3 separate regions of the Homo sapiens genome follow, and all the other regions are linked to region 1. Evidence: promoter capture Hi-C in human tissues and cell types (Jung and others, 2019). All regions are on one chromosome and are shown on one strand. Each heading gives the region's core, a stretch centred on a gene start or on the middle of the fragment in contact. The rest is flanking DNA. Distances are from core to core; before and after follow the strand shown.

Region 1 (2,933 bases), core at 264-2,763:
ACAAAAAATTAGCCCTGTGTGGTGACCTGTACACCCAGCTCCTCCGGAGTCTGAGGCAGGAGTTTGAGGCTGCAGTGGGCCGTGATCATGCCACTGCACTGAAGCCTGGGTGACAAAGTGAGATCGTGTCTCTAAAACATTAAAAAAAAAAAAAAAAGGAAAAATGAGAGTGAGAACTGAAACAGCAGAAGGGCTCAAATCATCCTGTACATAGAAATCCTCCATCCAGGCCAGGCGCGGTGGCTCACCAGCATTTTGGGAGACCGAGGCAGGAGGATCACGAGGTCCGGAGATCGAGACCATCATGTCCAACATGGTGAAACCCCGTCTCACTAAAAATACAAAAACAAAATTAGCTGGGGGTGATGGCGGACGACTGTAGTCCCAGCTACTCAGGAGGCTGAGGCGGCAGAAAGGCATGAACCCGGGAATCGAGCTTGCAGTAAGTGGAGATCGCGCCACTGCGCTCCAGGCTAGGCCACAGAGCGAGACTCCGTCTGAAAAAAAAAAAAAAGAGAGAGAGAGAGAGAAAGAAATCCTCCATCCAGCCCTGTTGGTTGTGTATGTGTTGGAGGGGGTGGAGGGGCAGCCTTCTCAGGCTTTCAAGGAGGGCTCCCTAGCACCTCAGCTAAGATTTGTTTGTCTATACTATTAAAAGATAGACATAACTGTGTCCCAAACCAGCCTCCCCAGTTCCCACCAGCCAGAGCGCCTGACCTTGCAGGGAAGCTTATCTGTTTACCGTCCGAGCACTTTCAGGGATTCTAAAATGCCGTGAGTGGGAACCACTGCCATGGGCCATTTCCATGAAAATTCAATTTCGGGGATTAATTTGAACAGGTACTATTGACGTTTTCTCGTTTACACAAGATCAAAGAGTAAAAACAACCGGGCCTCTGCTTAACAGTTGAGGATTCTAGCAAAGTTAGGAAACAGGTTTCTATTTGTAGTAGAAGAGAGAGCAGGCAGAAAGAGGAAGATGGGAGCGGGGAGAGATTGGCAGAGATTCAGAAAGTTCGCGCTTGAGATTTTTACGTTTCTTACTCGTAAACGTCTATTTCTCTGGGTTTCTGAATGCAAAGACGAGAAAGTCTCAACAGTCTGCTAAACTAACACGGCCTTCGAATCCCAATCTGAACACAGTAGCTGAAACAAGCTGTCCACAAAGAGGAAAGCCAGAGGGGGCCAATTAGGAAGGAAGAAATTAAAGAAAAGAGAAAAGCCAAGATGAAAGGTCCAGCGCAAAGTGAATGACTCGACTGGAGAATGGCAGCCCTGGCAGGGTCTGCGGCCGGCTGCGGAGGTGGGGACGCGGCCGCGCGGACGAGTGACAGGTTGGTCCGGCGCAGCAAAGGGAGCGGGTGCGGCGGTAGGGCCTCTCCGGGGGCAGCGCGAGGGCCTCCCCCGGGGCAGCGCGGGCCAAGGCGGGGCCTCCAGAGCGGGGGCAGCAGAGGAGGGAGCGGAACGGGAGCCGGGCGGAGGCGGCTGCGGCAGGGGGAGGCGGGAGGCGGGCGCGCTAGCTCCCATGCTGGCCTCGGTGCCACTCGCGCGCCGGCCGCGCTCCGGGCTTCTCTTTTCCCTCCGACGCGCCACGGCTGCCCAGACATTCCGGCTGCCGGGTCTGGAGAGCTCCCCGAACCCCTCCGCGGAGAGGAGCGAGGCGGCGCCAGGGTGGCCCCCGGGGCGCGCTTGGTCTCGGAGAAGCGGGGACGAGGCCGGAGGATGAGCGACTGAGGGCGACGCGGGCACTGACGCGAGTTGGGGCCGCGACTACCGGCAGCTGACAGCGCGATGAGCGACTCCCCAGAGACGCCCTAGCCCGGTGTGCGCGCCAGGCGGAGCGCGCAGGTGGGGCTGGGCTGTTAGTGGTCCGCCCCACGCGGGTCGCCGGCCGGCCCAGGATGGGCGCTGGCAACCCGGGCCCGCGCCCGCCGCTGCTACCCCTGCGCCCGCTGCGAGCCCGGCGTCCGGCCCGCGCCCTGCGCTCATGTATGTAGGTTTGGCGCCGGTCTTCAGGGCTGAGGGTGCATGCTGGGTGTCCCCGCGCGGCCGGACGCGCTCCAGCTGGGTTCAGCCGCTCAGCTGCTCCGGAGGAACCCCCTCCCCCGCCCAAGTTTGTGAATATGGGCGCTTCGCCCAGTGTTGAGGTCGGCAGGGACCGGGCAGGGGGTCAGCAGGGCCGGGCACGTCCGGAGCCCTCAGGGAGGAGGGCTGAGGGGGAGGGGACAGACGCACCGGAGTGCGCAGAGTGGGGGCGTTCGGGGAGTGAGGCGGAGAGAGGCTGGATTGCCGGTGTCCTGCGGCGTCTCGGGCTCTCCCAGCCCCTTTGGGCGGCAGAAACTTTGGAATCCAGAAAGGCTGGCCGGGATCCAGCGAGTAGGAGGGTCTCGCGCCCACTCTGCGCCCTGGGGCCCCAGCCTCCCGCACTGCACACCTTGGTGCTGCCCGGGCGCTTCTGCTCCGCAGCCAGGACACTACAAGACTGAGCGCTGCGGCCGGCGACCTGGCTCCCAAGGCTCGGAGGGGCGGGCCGGCAGAGGAGCTGAAGCCCCGGGAATCCCCGACCCGGCCCTCTGGCAAGGGGCCGAGGGCATCCTTTCATGCAGCGGGGCTTAGAGAGCGGGGAGGGGGCGTCTGCTCCCGAGACGGGAGTCTTTTAAGAAGTTGTTAGAAATGAATCGTGGAGTCCTAGGAGAAGCTTTGTTTAACCTCCCCGCATTTTCCCAGCACAACCCCCTAAAGCAAATGAGGAAGAGTTTCCCTCTTATCTTCCTGTACATTCGTCCGTCTCTAACTCCACTGCTGAATTCTCCATTTAATAACCTTCGGGAAATGTGGCCAGGACCTAGGGAGGGACACCCTGGGTGCCTGAATTACGTGGTTCAAGGCAGAGCTTTGCAGGGGGGCGCGGGCCTGGCTCGCTGCGTTCCCTG
Region 2 (2,933 bases), core at 311-2,810, 1.7 Mb before region 1:
GGAAATGATCACTATATTATGGTAATAATAAATCCCATTCTCCAAAAAGGGACCTTTTGGGTTTTAGCTTGGTGACAAGAGACTGCTGAGTTACGAAGGTGAGAACCGTGTGGTGGAAACAACTGGCTTGACCTCAGGAAAGCAGCTTCACTTCACAGACTCCTACTGATGTCTTTATGAGCCTTGGATCATCCTGTAGACCCAGTGCTTCACTCTCTTCCTCTCAGCATGAATCCTGCCCACTCTGCAAGGCTTTCCAGGGAGTTGGGGGCCTGGCCATTACAGGGCATTTGGGGATTTGTTTCTTTATTAACTGAGTTCAAAACGTGAGTCTCACCCTCCTTCAAAGAGCTCTGGCAAAACCCTGCCCTTCTCCACACAGAGAAGTGGTCTTGGGGGTTTCTGACTACTGAGCCCTAGTAGAATAACTTCAGGTACGCCACGTTTTTCCTTCATGGGACTTTGCAGTGGAGACGGGGCCGTGGGCTGACTCAGGTCAGCCTCAGTCCCTCTCCCTCCTATGGTGGTCCCCTGTCCCCGCTGCTCCCCCTGGAGCTGATAACTTTTACCCATCTTTGACCCAATTCTTCCTGGGGAGAAGAGCATCTGAGATTCTAGAAAAGTGAGGCAGAGGCCAGGCGCAGTGGCTCACACCTGTAATCCCAGCACTTTGGGAGGCCGAGGCTGGTGGATCACCTGGGGTCAGCAGTTCGAGAACAGCCTGCCCAACATGGTGAAACCCTGTCTCTACTAAAAATACAAAAATTAGCTGAACATGGTGGCGTGTGTCTGTAGTCTCAGCTACTCGGGAGGCTGAGGCAGAAGAATTGCCTGAACCTGGGAGGCGGAGGTTGCAGTGAGCCGAGATGGCACCACTGCACTCCAGCCTGGGTGACAGAGCGAGACTGTCTCTATTAAAAAAAGGGAGGCAGAGAGGTGTGGTGTGTTGGGTCAGTGAGTCTTGACTTGCTGAGCTGGGAAATTGGGAATAAGGGACAGGTTTTTGTTTTGTTTTGTTTTGTTTTTTGAGACGGAGTGTCGCTCTGCAACCTCTGCCTCCCAGGTTCAAGCGATTGTCCTCCCTCAGCCTCCTGAGAGTAGCTGGGATTACAGGCGCCTGCCACCACACCTGGCTAATTTTTGTATTTTTAGTAGAGATGGTGTTTCACTGTATTGGACAGGCTTGTCTTGAACTCATGATCTCCACCCACCTTGGCCTCCCAAAGTGCTGGGTTTACAGGCATAAAGGGGACAGGTTCTCTGGAGGTGTGAGGTGCCTGTCCACTTAGGCTTTTGGCACATTTTCAGCACCTCCTCTCTGAAACTAGCAATGCTATAAACACACATACACACTCTCCTCTCTCTCTGTTTCTATTTCTCACACAATTCACACACTTACATCAGGTGTGTAAGGAATTCCACTTCATTGCACTGACTTTCTACATATTAGTGGGGCTCTGCACGATCTTGGTTTCTACTGAGTGGATTCACTCCATTCTGTGATTTTTTTTCCTTAGGGTCCTGCCTCAGTTGGCGGAATGGCGGCCACGGGAGCCAATGCAGAGAAAGCTGAAAGTCACAAGTAAGGCTCCATTTCATTCCAGGTTGGGTTGGGTGGGGTTGGGTTGTTTATAGAGCATATGTTGTGCCACACATTTTTCTAAGGACTTGACATATATTAACACATTTGATGCTTGTGAAAGAGACTGAGGCCTGGAGGGATTAATGACTCAGGAGGTTCGTACATTAGATGGTTAAAGACCTCCGGGGTCGGGTGCTGGGGCCTCAGCTCTTGATTCTTAGGACATGTTGTTTCAGAAAACCAGACAAGTCCCTGCTCAAATCTCTGTCTAGTAGGTTTTTCCTCTATGTGCCAATTTCTTAAACAAAATCCCCTGCTTATCACTCAGCTCTGCCTTGGTTCTGAATTTTAAATGCCTTCTTATTTCTTTGCAGTTTGTCATACTTCTGGTATGCTTGGCATGACACCACTTGTGTTTAGGCATTGCTAGAAAAGCAAGAATTTCTTGTCTTCATTCTGATTCCTATGTGAACTTTAATCCGCTGATTATTCTTATTTTCTCACCCCCCCAGTTGTCTCCCACCTCTGCTGGGGTTACCTGGGCAGGCCTTCTGTCCTGCCGCCATGGCCTCTCCCCAGTCTTGGTGGCCTCTGACCTTGGCACCACCCAGGGTTGTGGTGACCTCTGGCCCCCCTTGCTCTGGACTCCTGGTCCTTTGTTCCTCTGTAACTTCCCTGAGACCTCTCTGAAGTCTCACATGTGACAGCTGCATACCCAGGTCATAATTCCATATGGACAATGCTCTTCTCCTCCTCCATTCCCCAGAAGTCCTGGTGTCCATTTTGGAGTTTCTGGTGCCTGTGGACATTCCCTGCAGTGATTTTTTTTTTTTGAGATGGAGTTTTGCTCTTGTCGCCCAGGCTGGAGTGCAGTGAGTGGCGCAATCTCAGCTTGCTGCAACCTCTGCTTCCCAGTTTCAAGCAATTCTGGTGCCTCGGCCTCCCAGGTAGCTGGGATTACAGGTGCAAGCCAGCACACTTGGCTAATTTTGTATTTTTAGTAGAGATGGGGTTTCACCATGTTGGCCAGGCTGGTCTCAAACTCCTGACCTCAAGTGATCCACCCGCCTCAGTCTCCCAAAGTGCTGGGATTACGGGCGTGAGCCACTGTGGCCTGCCTCAGTGATTATTTTTTAATTGAACTAATAGTATTCCTGGTATTTTCAGTCATTGACAGCCAAAAATGCCTTGTCCCCAGTTTCTGGAGCTCCCCTCCTTCCTCCTCCTGCCATGGCTTGAGGTTGAGGCCTAGTAGGAGGCTGGTGGGGGTGGAGGGGAGTGGTAGAAATGAAGGCTGGAGAAAACAGGGCCGGCACACCAAGTGCCAAGCAACTCAGTGAGGGTTTCCTCC
Region 3 (2,933 bases), core at 275-2,774, 1.5 Mb before region 1:
TACATACAGAAATTTTTTTCCAATTTAGAATTCAAAGCTGTCATGTCACTAACCTCTGAGTGAGAAAGGCTGTGCCTGTGACTCAGTAGTTCAGCCTTGAGAAGCTTTCTCAGCATGAGTAGTGTTGTGGTAAAGAGCTTGAATGCTGACGTCAGACTAATTAGTTTCTAATCTTGGCTTTGCAACAGATTAGCCATGTGATTTGGTGGCAAATTGCTTCAGTTTCCTTATCTATAAATAAGTTTCATAATATTAAAGGAATTAATACTTAAGACAGTATGTGATGATCCCATCACCCAGGTAGTGAACATAGTATCCAATAGTTAGTTTTTCAACCCTTGCCCACCCCTCTTTCCCTAATCTTTAGCTCCCAATTTCTATTGTTGCCACTTTTATATTTATATGTACACCATATTTAGTTCCCACTTATAAATGGGAACATGTGGTATTTGATTTTCTGTTCCTGAATTAATTTTCTGAGAATACTGGCCCCCAGCTACATCCATGTTACTGCAAAGGACATGATTTCATTCTTTTTTATGGCTGTGTAGTGTTTCATGGGAGTATATGTACCACCTTTTCTTTATCCAATCAACTCTTGATGGACATCTAGCTGGATTCCATGACTTTGCTATTGTGAATAGTACTGTGATGAACATATGTGTGCATGTGTCTTTATGGTACAATGATATACATTCCTTTGGGTATATACACAATAATGGGACTGCTGGGTCAAATGGTAATTCTGTTTTCAGTTCTTTAAGAAATTGCCACACTGTTTTCCACGATGTTGATCTAATTTACTTTCCCTCTAACAGTGTGTAAGTGTTCCCGTTTCTCCACAACCTCACCAGCATCTGTTACTTTTTGACTTTTTAATGATAGCCATTCTGACTGCAGTGAGATGGTATCTCAGTGGTTTTGATTTGTATTTCTCTAATGCAGTGGAGTATTTTTTCATATACTTATTGGCCATGTGCATGTCTTCTTCTAAAAAGTGTCTGTTCATGTCTTTTGCCTACTTTTTAATGGGGTTGTTTTTTGCTTGTTGGTTTTTTAAATTCCTTATAGATTCTGGATATTAGACCTTTGTTGGATGCATAGTTTGCAAATATTTTCTCCTGTTCTGTAGGGTGTCTGTTTACTCTCTTGATAGTTTCTTTTGCTGTGCAGAAGCTCTTTAGTTTACTTGGGTCCTATTTGTCGATTTTTTGTTGTTGTTGCAATAACTCTGATATCTTCATCTTGAAATCTTTTCCTGTTCCCATGTGCAGAATGATATTGCCTAGGTTATCTTCCAGGATATTGATAGTTTTAGGTTTAACATTTAAATCTTTAATCCATCTTGAGTTGATTTTTTTATATGAGATGAGAAAGGGATCCAGCTTCAATCTTCTGCACATGGCTAGCCAGTTATTCCAGCACCTTTTATTGATTAAGGAATCCTATCCCTATTGCTAGTTTTTGTCAACTTTGTCAAAGATCGATGGTTTTAGGTGTGTGGCCTTACTTCTGGGCTCTGGGCTGTCTATTCTGTTCCGTTGGTATATGTGTTTTATTTTTTATTTTTATTATTTTACCAGTACCATGTTGTTTTGGTTTCTGTAGCCATGTAGTATAGTTTGGAGGTGGGTAATGTAATCCCTACAGCATTGCTCTTTTGCTTACGATTGCCTTGGCTATTCGGGCACTTTTTTGATTCCATATGAATTTTAAAATAGTTTTTTCAAATTCTGTAAAGAATGTCATCGGTAGTTTGTTAAGAATAACATTGAATCTGTGAATTGCTTTGGGAAATCTTAATAATATTGATTCTTCTTATCCATGAACATGGGATGTTTTTCCATTTGTTTGTATCACCTGTGATTTCTTTGAGCAGTGTTTTTTAATTCTCATTGAGGAGATCTTTCGCCTTCCTGGTTAGCTGTATTCCTAGGTATTTTATTCTTTTTGTGGCTATTGTGAATGTGATTCTGTTCTTGATTTGGCTTTCATCTTGGATATTGTTGGTTTGTACATTGATTTTCTATTCTGAAACTTTGCTGAAGTTGCTTATCAGATCTAGGGGCTCTGGGGCAGACTATGGGGTTTTCTAGGTATAGGATTGTATCATCTTGCAAACAAGGATAAAACTATCCCTGTTTGGAGACTTCCTCTCTTCCTGTTTGGCTGCCTTTTATTTCTTTCTCTTGCCTGATTGCTCTGGATAGGACTTTCAGTATTATGGTGAATAGGAGTGGTGAGAGTGGTCATCCTTGTCCTGTTACAGTTCTAAAGGGAAATTCTTCTAGCTCTTTCCCACTTAGTATGATTTTGGCTGTGTGTTTTTCATCGATGGGCTGTTATTACTTTGAGGTATGTTCCTTCATTGCCTAGTTTGTTAAGGGTTTTTAAAATGAAGGGATGTTGAATTTTATCAATAGCCTTTTCTGCATCTATTGAGATGATCATGTGGTTTTTGTTTTTAGTTCTGTTTATGTGATAAATCACATTTACTGATTTGTATATGTTGGACCAAACTTTCAACCCTGGGATAAAGCCTACTTGATTGTAGTGGATTAGCTTTCTGATGTGTTGCTGATTTGGTTTGATAGTATGTTGTTGAGGATTTTTGCATCTATGTTCATCAAGCATACTGGCCTGAAATTTTTGTTGTTGTTGTTTTGTGTCTCTGCCAGGGTTTGGTATCAGGATGATGCTAGGCTCATAGAATGAGTTAGGGAGGGGTCCCTCCTCTGCAATTTTTTGGATTAGTTTCAGTAGGGATGGTATCAGTTCTTCTTTATACATTTGGTAGAATTCACCTGTTGCTTATTTATTTATTTTTTTTGAGACAGGATCTCACTCTGTTGCCCAGGCTGGAGTGAAGTGATGCAGTCGAGGCTCACTGCACCCTCGACCTCCCAGGGTCAAGCAACCCTCCTGCCTCAACC

The links. Contacts are between HindIII fragments. The study calls those that stand out against the background at their distance.
Region 2: a contact is called between a fragment that was not itself captured here and the fragment with the promoter of VWC2 in region 1, in 1 of the 25 tissues and cell types used here (stomach).
Region 3: a contact is called between a fragment that was not itself captured here and the fragment with the promoter of VWC2 in region 1, in 1 of the 25 tissues and cell types used here (dorsolateral prefrontal cortex).

Annotation. Positions count from the first base shown.
Region 1 is chr7:49,772,125-49,775,057 of GRCh38, forward strand. VWC2 (von Willebrand factor C domain containing 2) reads left to right here and starts at 1,514. Exons shown (of 4, transcript NM_198570.5): 1 at 1,514-1,989. The HindIII fragment of the contact is 7,488 bases long and covers 1-2,933 here.
Region 2 is chr7:48,093,246-48,096,178 of GRCh38, forward strand. UPP1 (uridine phosphorylase 1) reads left to right here. Exons shown (of 9, transcript NM_003364.4): 3 at 1,518-1,582. The coding sequence starts at 1,539. Among named protein-coding and RNA genes, the nearest start is that of UPP1, 5.4 kb to the left of the region's middle. The HindIII fragment of the contact is 6,395 bases long and covers 1-2,933 here.
Region 3 is chr7:48,255,112-48,258,044 of GRCh38, forward strand. The region is part of intron 15 of ABCA13 (ATP binding cassette subfamily A member 13); the gene reads left to right. Among named protein-coding and RNA genes, the nearest start is that of ABCA13, 85 kb to the left of the region's middle. The HindIII fragment of the contact is 3,964 bases long and covers 1-2,933 here.